Linked DNA regions of Homo sapiens: all the other regions are linked to region 2. The links are contacts of gene promoters, found by promoter capture Hi-C in human tissues and cell types (Jung and others, 2019). All regions are on one chromosome and are shown on one strand. The core of a region is centred on a gene start or on the middle of the fragment in contact, and the rest is flanking DNA. Distances in the headings are between cores, read along the strand shown. Region 1 overlaps LOC101927314 (a long non-coding RNA gene). Region 2 holds the start of KLHL32 (kelch like family member 32). Region 3 overlaps LOC101927314 (a long non-coding RNA gene).

What was found. The method cuts DNA at HindIII sites, captures the fragments that hold promoters and counts their contacts. A contact is called where the count stands out against the background at its distance.
Region 1: a fragment that was not itself captured here is called in contact with the fragment with the promoter of KLHL32 in region 2 in 1 of the 25 tissues and cell types used here (hippocampus).
Region 3: a fragment that was not itself captured here is called in contact with the fragment with the promoter of KLHL32 in region 2 in 2 of the 25 tissues and cell types used here (dorsolateral prefrontal cortex and heart left ventricle).

Annotation. Positions count from the first base shown.
Region 1 is chr6:97,653,277-97,657,229 of GRCh38, reverse strand. All of the region lies in intron 3 of LOC101927314 (a long non-coding RNA gene), which reads right to left. Among named protein-coding and RNA genes, the nearest start is that of MIR2113, 370 kb to the left of the region's middle. The HindIII fragment of the contact is 7,031 bases long and covers 1-3,953 here.
Region 2 is chr6:96,922,929-96,927,219 of GRCh38, reverse strand. KLHL32 (kelch like family member 32) reads right to left here and starts at 2,492. Exons shown (of 11, transcript NM_052904.4): 1 at 2,194-2,492. RefSeq lists a silencer at 2,456-2,765. The HindIII fragment of the contact is 13,841 bases long and covers 1-4,291 here.
Region 3 is chr6:97,669,221-97,673,080 of GRCh38, reverse strand. All of the region lies in intron 3 of LOC101927314 (a long non-coding RNA gene), which reads right to left. Among named protein-coding and RNA genes, the nearest start is that of MIR2113, 350 kb to the left of the region's middle. The HindIII fragment of the contact is 3,426 bases long and covers 439-3,860 here.

The DNA of each region.
Region 1 (3,953 bases), core at 1,156-3,655, 730 kb before region 2:
AAAGACAACAGGCCTGAAAGGACAGAGCATAAAAGAAACTACTTTACTGGAAGAAAGGGCTTCTTAATCCGCATTGGAATTGTGCTCGAAATACATTACGTTTTTTAGCCTTTCAAATTTTTTTGATTTAAATCACAGACCTAGTATGAGAATGTAACAGCCTGAAAAATATTTTCTTACTAAGACCTAAGGGTATACGTCACTCTAGAAATAAGGAAACACTCAAATGCTGCACATAGGCTAGGAAACGTTTCCCAGCTTTGGGTTTGTTTTGTTTTTTGCTGCTTCAGGATTCCAGTGCAATGTCTCTGACCCTCTGATCACTTGTAAAACCCCTCGCCCTTGTCAACTATGACCAACAATTAGGAACTCTGCATGGAGGATCCTCCTTCCCTCCTGTTACATAGTTAGTCCTTGTTTTCTAATGTTAGCCGTGCAAAACGATATATCTTTATACAATAGGCAACCACTTAGGAATCAATTTGGTGGTGTTTTATTCCTTTTATACTACTTTCAAGTAATTCAATTAGCTTTAAAGAAAAAAGCATTCTACTTCTGGTTAAGAGCCTAGACCTAACCAAAATTCTTTTAAAACAAGCTAAAAGTCTTGTGTTACTATTAATACCTAAAAAATAATATTAGATCTCCAAACAAAAGCATTGCTTCTCTGTCCAATTTGATGTCTTTTTCATGCTGCCTCAGTGATGGCCAAATAATTGGTTGTTCACTTGTGTCCTTGTCTCCCCCGACAGTTCCACAGATGCCCTGAACAATGCTCCAAAGACTGCTTTCAGTAGGGGCAAATCCTCATTAATCATTCCTGGCTGACAGCACAAGGGGACACCTGCATCTGGTGCAGAAGCCCAGCCATAGTTCAGGGGAGTGTGGATCAAAAACCAACCCATGCAAGGTATGGGAGACTACTTTTAACAGGAATGTGAAAAACAACAACCACACACACAATCCAAGCAACAAAAACAAATCCTCTTTTGGCATTTCCATTTATTTAATATCTCAGACTGAAGCTGTGGTTCATGTTGCCACTAAAACACCATTCTACTCTAAGCAAGTATATCAGAGAACTAACCACACACAGAGTTATGATAAATGGCTACTAAATTCTTCATGCTCACATCAACCAATGTTAGCATTAAATACTGATAAACTGTCACATAATTTTCATTTAGAAATGATTTCAGTTTCAGCTTCCTATCTTATGGTGCTCGTAAATATTTCCCCTACTATATTTCACAAGTAGAATGTATGAAATATACACATTTTTAGCAAGAGCTCTTGGTCCTATGTGATTGCTTTCTTTTATTGAAATAATAAATATTTCTATTTTTAAAGGGTTAAAAAGAATCCAGGCAATACACCCAGGAAATTATGTATATCATTATGTACTATTGCAGCTGTTTTAACTTGCTTTTTGAATAAAATGAAGCATTTTTGTACTTTTACAGAAGAGTTTTCTCTCACTTGTCATTATTTTTCTAATTGTATCCCTTAGAGAAAAGACCATAAATAATGAACCCCAATTCATATCTCATAGTTTTGTCTTAAGTAAAACTAAATATGTTTGTAGAGTACCAGAAAATAAAAGACTAGTAGTTAAAATACCTAGGAGACTTAGGGAATACAATACATCAAGGAATTACAACAATAAAAAAAGGAGGTGATAAGCAAACTAAGAGACCTGCAAATAAAAGTGATAAAAGACTACAAAGATTAATCAAGTTGATGTTTATGCTGCTCAGTTTGTAAAAACAAATACAGACTTTTCTGTATGTTGGAGATTAATTATAACTATTATACATATAAAATTTAAAAGTTAAACATCAATTGATATACTACAATTTATAGTAAGTCCATATTGGAGATCTTTGGTTTGAAAATGTAATTAAGTTTCGAAGTTCTAGTTTTAAAAAAAATACATAAGGGCAATGTTGTAAGTTGGATAGAAGCTAAAGGTCCCCAAAGTGAAAATTTAGTTTGGGTTTAGTTTGGATATTTAGAATAATTTAGATATAAATATTTAGGGATTTTAACAGACAAATAATCTTGGGAAAATTATACTTCTCAAGTCATTATAACATCCCTTAACTTCATTATTTACAAACATATTTAATTTAAAAGAATGTCTACAAAGCTGAAGATGGAAGAATGGACATGAAGATAAAGAGATAACAGCTTAATAATCAGCAGAGTATTCAGTGGTAGTAAATACTATTTACTACTATTGAAAGGCTATGCAAGAGACACTTCCAGTATCCCAGAGAAGTTCAAACTGCCATTCTCTTCAACTTTGCTAGGGCCTGTCCCATTGCAAGGACACAGCCACCATGTAGTGGAGCTCTTTGCCTAAGGTACGCTTCCGTCCTTTATGGATGCCGTTGGTAACACCAAGAACTCCAAACCTGTACTGCACCTAGCTAATTAAGTGTAGTGGCCCCATATTCTGCTTAGAGACCTTTCTGGGTTTTGTACTTTTTTCTTCCATTATAAACAAGAATTATGGCATGTACACTCTTCATTAGGAGCTATGGAAACATAGCCAAAAGTGCCCTCAAGCATATTTTAGTTAAAGCTTGGGAAGAAGACACTAACCCCTTCTTATACAGAAAACATAATTGTAAGGAGGAAAACAGAGGCAGAAATAAGAAAGGGGGGAGAGAAGAAGGGAGGGAGCAAAAAAAGAGGATAGTTGTAAAATTCTTTGCATAACCAATCTCTGGGTACTCTGATTACGGTCAAAGACATTTTTTTTTCCACAGATGACTTCAACTTTTCCCAATACTAAGATATGAAGAATAAGTAACTAGCAACTAATTTTAATTAAACATTAATTCCATGGAAGGCACTTTTTTCTGAGACCGAGTCTTGCTCTATCACCCAGGCTGGAGTGCAGTGGCGCGATGTTGGCTCACTGCAGTGGCACAATCTTGGTTCACTGTAGCCTCCACCCCCCGGATTCAAGCAATCCTCCTGCCTCAGCCTCCTGAGTAGCTGGAACCACAGGCACGGGCTGCCACACCCAGCTAATTTTTGTATTTTTAGTAGAGAAGGGGTTTCATCATATTGGCCAGGTGTTGATCTCCTGACCCTGTGATCCGCCCACCTCAGCCTCCCAAAGTGCTGGGATAATAGGCATGAGCCACCGCTTTTGTGTGGCTATCCTATTAAATCCTTACAACATTCTTTTAAAATACATATCATTATCTCAATTTTGCAAATGAGGAAATTGAGAATCAAGAAGGTTAAATAATATGCCCAAGTCACAAAGCCAAAGTAAAGCCAGGTTTCAAATTAGATCTGCCTTTCTCAGAAGCACATATTCTTTCCACAAAACCATACTATGTCAACAATTTATTTCCACATCTCTGGATTGAGTCTAAAAGCCTCCCATCTGTCCACTGAGGCAAATCCTCAAATTTGTGGCACATGAGCTAATTTTCATTTGGTTTTCATGTGCTCATGACTCCATCCCTCCCATACTCAACTAGCACCTTCCCATTCATTCTTTGTGTCTCAGCTTAGTGTCACCTCACTAGGATATTTTCTCCTCATAATTGCCCCTAAAGTATCCTTCAACAACTTTTGCATTATAGTATTTTTCACAATGTATTGCAATTGCCTGTTTACTTATCTTTACTGTTCTCTAATCTCTATTCCCAGGTACTGGAGAGTATTTTATCCAGCATAGCTAACAACTATTTCTGGAAGGAAGGAAGGAAGGAAGGAAGGAAGGAAGGAAGGAAGGAAGGGAGGAAGGGAGGGAGGGAGGGAGGGAGGGAGGGAGGGAGGGAGGGAGGGAGGGAGGGAGGGGAGGGGAGGGGAGGGGAGGAAGGAAGGAGTAGAAGAAGGGAGGGGTGACTTGTAAAAAGACTATTACAAATATGTTAGCATGTGAAAAAATTGGAACAAAATAATTGTACTACCTCAAGAAAAGATCA
Region 2 (4,291 bases), core at 1,243-3,742:
CAAGAAAAAAAACATTAAGCCAGGAACATAAGTTCTAAACTATATATGCTTTTGTTTCACCAGATTCAAAAATTCCTATTTTAGAGCACTTCATGGTCTTTTATTTTCTGAGATATAAGACAGAGATCTAGAAAACCTCAAAAAATTTTTGAACCTGTTTATTGAAAAACAAAGGTAGAGCATTTATTAGACTTTAATATTGAAATAAAAAACTGATCACTCACAATGATGGATGTATTTTTTCACATCAGTATTTTGTTAGAGAATACTAACTTATAATTGAGTGAGACATCAGTAATTATGGGTTGCTAACTAGCAGGCCACAGGCTAGATATGACCCAGATACAATTTTTAATGTGGTCCTTACAGTTTTTAAAATTAAGGATACCTCATAAAAAAAATCCAGAAGCTTCTGTTTTCCTTAAAAAACTGTCATGTTTTAGAGCCTGGACAGTAACAATCGGCTACAGTGGAGTGGGAGCTGCCTCCTTTACAGTGGTTTGCAAGTTCCAGAGGCCACAGTTCACACTCCACTCCCTACCCTCTCTCCCACGTGTCTTGTCTAGGCCTGCTCCACTCCTTTATCTCACTTGTCAGATCCCTGCACACATCTGAAACGCACACACAACTTTTTTTTAAAGGCAAGGAGACTGGATCCAGAAAGGGCTTCCCCATTCACTAGCTGTGACCTTCAGCAAGGTTTGAGTCTTGGGTTCCTCAGCTTTAAATGGAAGGTAATTTATTGGCCTCAAAGGGTTGTTGTGAGGATTAAAAAAGAAGTATATGAAAAGTGCTTTCTACACTGTAATGTAAAATGTTTGTCATCATTCATCTCCCAAAGCTCTGTGAATTGCATAAATCCCCTCTATCTACCTCTGTCATTATTTGGCTTACTTGCTCCTCACATTATTTATTACACTCTCTATGACAGAGTTTAAAATCTAAATTAGAAGAATTTGACTTATTTCCTTGGGTCATTTAACAAGAAGTAGAAAAGATGAACAAATATCCAAGGAAAACAAAATTAATTCTTGAATGCCAGTGGATCTTTACTGGGCCATTTGTTTGTGATGGAGGCATGAAATTCGTGCAAAGTGTAATTACTGGATTGCTGATGCCTTCAAGTACTGTGTTACAAGTTCACCCAATAGACACCCGAGACCTCAAAATAAAACAAAACTGACAGCCCAGGTATTAGGCTGACCTGTTCCATTGGCCTATCAGTGTTCCAGTAGAGGACCCAGTCCCATCAGAAAAAAAACAAAAAGCAAAAACCACTGCACTTTCATATAAGCTCTAGTAAGCCATGGCACACATTTTATATCTATCTCTATCTGTGTATAGAGATAGATCTAAAAATAATCAATAAGAGATTTTTTAAAAAACAGAATCTTCTCAGAAATGAGCAGAGGTGCAAAAAACTGCGCTTCAATACTGATGCAGGGGATATAAAAATGCTAGCAAAGATGTATGTCATGAATGCTACCTTCTTACGTTACGAATTCACAAACGTATTCCTGTTCTGGTCAATTTACAATAGAAGCTCATTCTTGTGTGGGGAAACACAATTAAATCATCTGCTTTTAATTTAAAATAATCACGACTAAGTGAACTGCAAAATAAAACTGGAAATAGAGGGGAAGAAGGGATCTAAACTGCAGTCATCTTTCTTTATAAGATCACCAAAATGGGAGTAAATTATGATTCAAGACACAATCCGTTGAAAAATTCATCTGACGAATCCTTTTTAAAGCATACCATATAGTGCAATTACGGCTTTTCTTGAAGTTGAATGAAACCGCCACCTGAATACAGATTAACAAATGCCAAATTACGAAAGGTCCTCAGTGTATATTTTATTTTAAATATCAAAATAAATAACGGCATCATTTAAGAAACCAGTTCTTTCAATAGATGTCCCACGGCTGATGTTTAAGCAAGTCTCCTTGGCAACCAAGGAGCACAGTACATATTGGGCTCAGGGGGAGGGAAGAAAGGGGGAGCGACTCCAGGGCTGGCAGCATAAGTAACCTGAGTAGTGGCTGCTCCCGTTAGACGACACGGGCAGAGGCTGCATGGGCTGCAAGCCCCTGAAATGTCAACTCCGGGTCTGCCCCCACTTGGCGCACCAGCAGCCTCCCACCCTCTTCCTCAGGTCTGCAGAACAGGTTACAAGGAGAGAGACTGGCTTACCCGATGGGGTGAGCGGTCTGCTGGGTTAGGTGCCAGAGACGGCAGCGCAGGCACCGGCCTCTCCTTGATGCACAATGGCTCTGCTTCGCCCCACGATGCTGAGGTTAACAGAACCCGCAGTAGCTTCGCTCTGCTGGTTCGGGGATGCAGTAGCGAAGACGAGCGTCCTAGCGTGTTTGTGTGTGCGAAAGTGTGTGTGTGTGTGTGTGTGTGTGTGTGTGTGTGCCTGCGTGCGTGTGTGCGCGCGACTGCCTGCGCGCTCCCGAACTGTCGCGCGGGGAAACTGCTCCCTAGTAAATAAAAAGCCCTAGCCAGCACTGCAGGTGGCACGTCCCGCTGACTCCGCCCCAGGCGGTCGCGTCAGACTGGAGACGCACCTTGGCACCCCCGGGGCGGGTTCAGACGCCACAGGGCTCCGCCCCCTCCCGCCTCCAGCTAGCCCGCGCGCTCCCTCCCCCTCCCCCGCGATCCCGCGCACATCCTTTCGCCACCCCGCGCGCAACGCCACCGCCCGCCGCCAGCGCGCTCGCTCCCCTGCCGCCCCCCGCCCCCGCCCCCGCCGTCGGCGAGCTGCCAGCGCGCGCCCGCCGGTCCCGGAAGTACCCTCCTCCACGCCGCCCTCCTCCTCGCTCTCCGGCACCTGCGTCGCCGGCCCCTGGGTCACATGCGCAGTCTGTAGCCACCACTGCGGCGACTGAGACCCGGGAACCCAGCCTGCTCGCCCCCAGACTCCTTTCCCAGGGCTGGCGGGCAATCTGAGCAAACAGACCCCGTGGCCCTAACTCGGTGTTCCAGGGAGTCCTTGCTCTGCTAACTTGTGAAGTTCAAGTTGCCTCTAGTCCTAGCGGCCCTACAGTGGCCCTCCTTAGGATAATACACTCTATGGTACTGACCAGAACAAATTCACAGTAACTTTAAGAAACGTCAGGGGAACCAACCCGCCAGAGGTGGACGAAATCCCCAAGCCTGAGAAATGAGAAAGGGTGTGATTACTGTGGTTACTACTAATTCAGCAATAAAACCGCAAACAGACAACAACCACAGAACCATACCATTAAATTCCAGGGCCTGGCACACTCAAGTGCCACTTCCGAGTCATTCAGGTCACTCCTGTGTAAAACATGCTGAGAAACTCACACTAAAGCAAAGTGGGTAATTTTAATAGGTAAGTATTCCACCACCGAATTGAAAACCTTAGTCCAACGTGGAGGTAAGACACCAGAAGCAGGAAGAGTGTAACTAAATTGGAGTAAACTGTATTTTGTAGAAGTTCAGGATTTAACTTACTGCAAAGATAGTATGTTAATCCTATTTCTTGCAGGTTTATGTTCTGCCACAGAGTTGGGCTAGGAACAGTGCCCTGATCTATTTTGAGGTGTCCTTAATGTTCTCATTGGTCTCAAATCAGTGGTTCAGCGATTATTTTCTACTTCTAGATCCACAGGATTTGGGGGTTTATTCGTTTGCTCCCTCTGGAGGTTATCTGTCTGGCTTGTAGTGCTTCATTTTCATGGTTTTGATATCTGGACGCTAGGATGCTGGGTACCTACTTATCTAGCAGTCCTGGACACAGCATAGGACAAGGGAAAGAATGACAAACAACTGACTACAAACATTAGGTGCAGTGTCATCCTAAGAATTTTTCATAAGCAACTTGATAGTTTTCATTGCGTTGTCTTCTATCAGAAAATCGAATATGAAAGCGTCTTTGAACCAAAAATATTGACAGTGACTGGTATCAATAAATAAAACAGTCCTTTAAGATCCCCAAGGTGTTTGTCACTAAAGTGAGAATACTTAAAATTTTAAGCCCATCTATATTGATTGGATTATCTGTTTAGAATAAATAGCAGCTATTTATTTAGTATAATTAAATAGAGCAAAGACTATAATTGCATTTACACAGGAAAAGAATATTTACACCACCAACTCACCATCTGTGTGACTATGGAAGAGTCTCTTACTGCCCAAGCTGAGTGTCTCAGGGTATCTCCTGGCCCTAGCACAATGTCTGCCACATAGTATCGGCTCACTAAATATTGTTCATTGACACATGGCGTTGAGGTTTAAATGGTAAATGCCTAGTAAAATGTCTAGT
Region 3 (3,860 bases), core at 902-3,401, 750 kb before region 2:
ACAGGTGCCCTGATCATCTGGAGACAAGATAAACTTGCAGTTGTTGCCTTCTGTCAATTGCTATAGCCATTCCAGGTTTAAGAGTGTCACGGTCCCCATCTCTCTGTAAACCATGATTCTTACTACACTTACTTCCTTGATTCCTCTCAGGTAAACCACAAACGTTTTATCAACTGCAGAGTAGCGTTTAGCCTAGCTTGATTAATTTGCACACAGCTGATACCAATTCTCCTAAGATCACTCATGTGGTTTGATTCAATTAATCACACTGTTCACCAAGCTCTAAAAAGAAAAACAAGACTGTTTATTTGCATGTTGTGAACCAAAAACTCAAAATATGAGAACAGCATTAATTGGTCATTCCCATATTTTCTATAGTTGGCCCTATAGCAGAATACCCCTATAATATGCATTTATCCCTTTGTATTGGATATGGCTTATAATTAATGAAGTATAAATAGCAGTTCCTTGACCACGGTCCAGACTCATGGGACTCCTACACATCTGTCCAGGGAAAGCCAGAAGAAAGTAGAGATGCAGAGTATTATCCAAGGAGATTCTCTGCAGGGTCCACCGTAGCAGCTGTGGTCTTAACAAGATGAACTCTTTGTTCCTGATTGTCACTGCTTACAGCTGCCCATCATAGAGAGTATGGTGCTGTACAGAATATCTATTGCAATGGAGAGAGGGGGAGGCTTATTTTCTCCTTGGTTTTAGCCTACATATTATTAGTTTAACTGATCTGTTTTACTTAAGGGGACAAGTAAATTTTTACATAAGATGTTTCTGTGGTTCAGTCACATTGTCTATCCCCAACACATCCCTTATCTTTATGTCAGGTTCACAACTACACCAAATGTCATGCTCAGGGTCAGGTCCAGGCCCATGCTGAGGTCCGAGGGGAGTGGGTGGATGGGCAGATAGCTGAAACAACACTCGGGTGGGGGTGGGTGTAGGCAGGTGAAATGTACTTTCATTCAGCAGCTCTTTCATTAGCAGCTTTCTCACACTAGTCCTCTCACACTGTGAGAGGAGGCAGAGGTTGCAGTGAGCCAAGATGGTGCCACTGCACTCCATCCTGGCTGACAGAGTGAGACTCTGTCTCAAAAAAAAAAAAAAAAGTAAATTCTTGAACACATTCCAGACCTTTGAATCACAAACTCTGAATGGGATCCAAAAATATCTTTCACCTAATATTTCTAGCTGATTCCAAGTGTTTGCTCAATTATGGTTTGTATAGAACCATTATATAAAGGAATATCCAAAGCCTTACTGGAAACTGAAGAAGCTTAGTAGCAAGGTCTAATTTTCAACTACAGTTTGAGTTCTTTGCAGACCATTGAAATAATTACAGTTGCTTTTGCTCAACCTCACAGGAGTCTCATGAAGACTGGATAAGTATGGATGTGTCATGATTAAAGCAAAACATGTGAGGTATGATGGCCTGAGTTGAAGGACTGTTATGCCCTATTACTTACATATTCCTGAGAATATGTATTTCACATCTCTTAGCCTTACCTTCCTCTCCTGTGAAATGAAGTTAATAATACTTAGCTCATAGCGTCATTGGGAAGACTGAGGAGGTTATGAATTTAATGACATCTACAGTAGTACTTAGCATTTAGTATGCATCAATAAGTGTTTGGTGCTGATGCCTTTACGGCTAAAATTTTCACTCTGACCTCTCTAACAGAGATGTCATCTCCATTTCAAAAAGCAAGTTAAAGGCCAAGGGCCAAGGATTGAGAAAAGATCCTTGAGAAAGGACTGCATTTATTGTGAATGGAAAGAAATGGTTCATAACTCCTCCTTTTCTCCTTATTTCAAGAAACTCCTGAAATCTTATCTTGTCCATAAAACCTTCCCATTTCTTGCTTCTCTCTACATCGTACACTTCTATGATGATTCTAACTGTTCCCTCTACTCTCTTCACTGACCCATTGGCATAGAATGTTATTTGCATGCAATTGTTAATTTAGTTTATACACTTAGCTAGTGGCTGTCTTCTAGTCTTTGTGCCTTGTGTGTAAAACTTTGTTAATTCTATATGTCTTAGAGAAAAAAGCTCCCTGGTAGCCTAGGCTTGCTTTTCTTGCCTCTCCATTTGCATAATGTTGTATAGCACCATGTAAATACAGATACTTGATTAATGGTTTCTGACAGATGCTATCAAATAAAATATCAGTACTGCAAAATTATAAATGTATATAGTTCTTCTAACCATAATTTTGATCCTTTTTTTCTAAATCCACATAATTTCACTTTGTCTTGAGCTATACTCCTTGGTGCACTGTAATTTGAATAAAACATACACCTGAAAGATCTACTTAAGAGGAAAAAGACATAAAAACTAAATTGAGAAGCTAAATCAGGCTATTAAAAATAATCAATATTCCCCCATGGGATATCTTCTCTCTCCCTTGCTTCCTCCCTCCCTCGTGTGTGTGTGTGTGTGTGTGTGTGTGTGTCTGTGTCTCACAATGCTTCCATAATGCAACATCCTAGAAAGAGGTGATTGTCAGGATAATAATCTTTATATCACCTATCACCTAACATGTTTATTATCACTTACCTTTATTTAAATACGCAATAGTGAAATGAGTTCATCTGCACCCATCCCTTTTAGTGCAGATTTTTGGTTTGCCCTTAGTATAGCCAAGAAAGAAGATCCCAGCTGGTAACTTTCTCAAAAAGAAAAGAAGAAATGATTTGTAATGGACTGAGCTCAGGGTAAAATGTCAGGTGATCCTGATTTTTTGGGTTACAAAAATCCTTCAAACTTTAAGCTGCTACTAGCCTTGTAGAGATTCTGAACCACTGGAGATGTTAAGTAGAGATTCAGCAGAACTGAAGTATCTTCATGGATTTTATCACTTTGTTGTATAACTGAAACTATAGTTACCATCAGTCACTGTTATTTTATTTCGTGTGTGGTGTGTGTGTGTGTGTGTGTGAGAGAGAGAGAGAGAGAGAGAGAGAAAGAGAGAGAGAGAAAGAGAGATACATTTTGGTCATTTTATTTAAAAATAGTTCACCTTCAGAAATAGAAATATGGGATCTATTGATAAACAATGGTACCACTACGACTCTTAAAATTCAAGAAAACAATTAATTACACAAGAAGAGCTACCCTAAAGTTCTCTCCAGAGAGGTCCCAAAGTCAAGATAAAAAGTCTGTTGTTGGGGACATTTTCAGCATAACCTTCTCCTGGGCAGAAAAATGAGTCACTGCCCATATTTCTCAGTTAATATTTTCTTGCCTTATTTTAATGTAGGAAAATACAGAAACGATCTACAGCTGTAAGAATGTGAAATATTCGGGCATCATTCGGGGTTCTCATATGACAAGATTTATCAATCTTTAAAATGCTCAAAAGGCTGTGAGAACAAAAACTGTCAAACACAATCACACAACGGGGCTCCACAGCACCAGAAGAAATTAAGTGAGGATTTCACCAAGTAAGCTGCTCCTTCACACACTCACAGCAGCCAAGAAGAAACAGCAAGCGCTGCGGAGTTGGAAAAAACCTTGCCTCACATGTGGAATAGAACGACACCTACATAGAAAAATAGCGAGCTGGTGCAGTTATCGGCACTGACATTTCAGCTCAACTCCCTCCCTCCCTCTCTCTCTCTTTCCTCCTCAGTCCCACGGGCAGCTGCGGCATTGACAGAAGGCCTGTGTCAGTTTCCATCTGACTGTCACTCTCACTTCTGCCTCTATTATCAGCAGTGCACTGGGGCAGTCCCCGCTTGGAAGGGCTGCTGATCTCTATCTCTCCACTCTACGCTGCCCCTGCCATGAACCTGACTAAGAAGGAGCCAGCCAGAGAGAGCAGGGGGGAAAGGCTGTGCTCTGG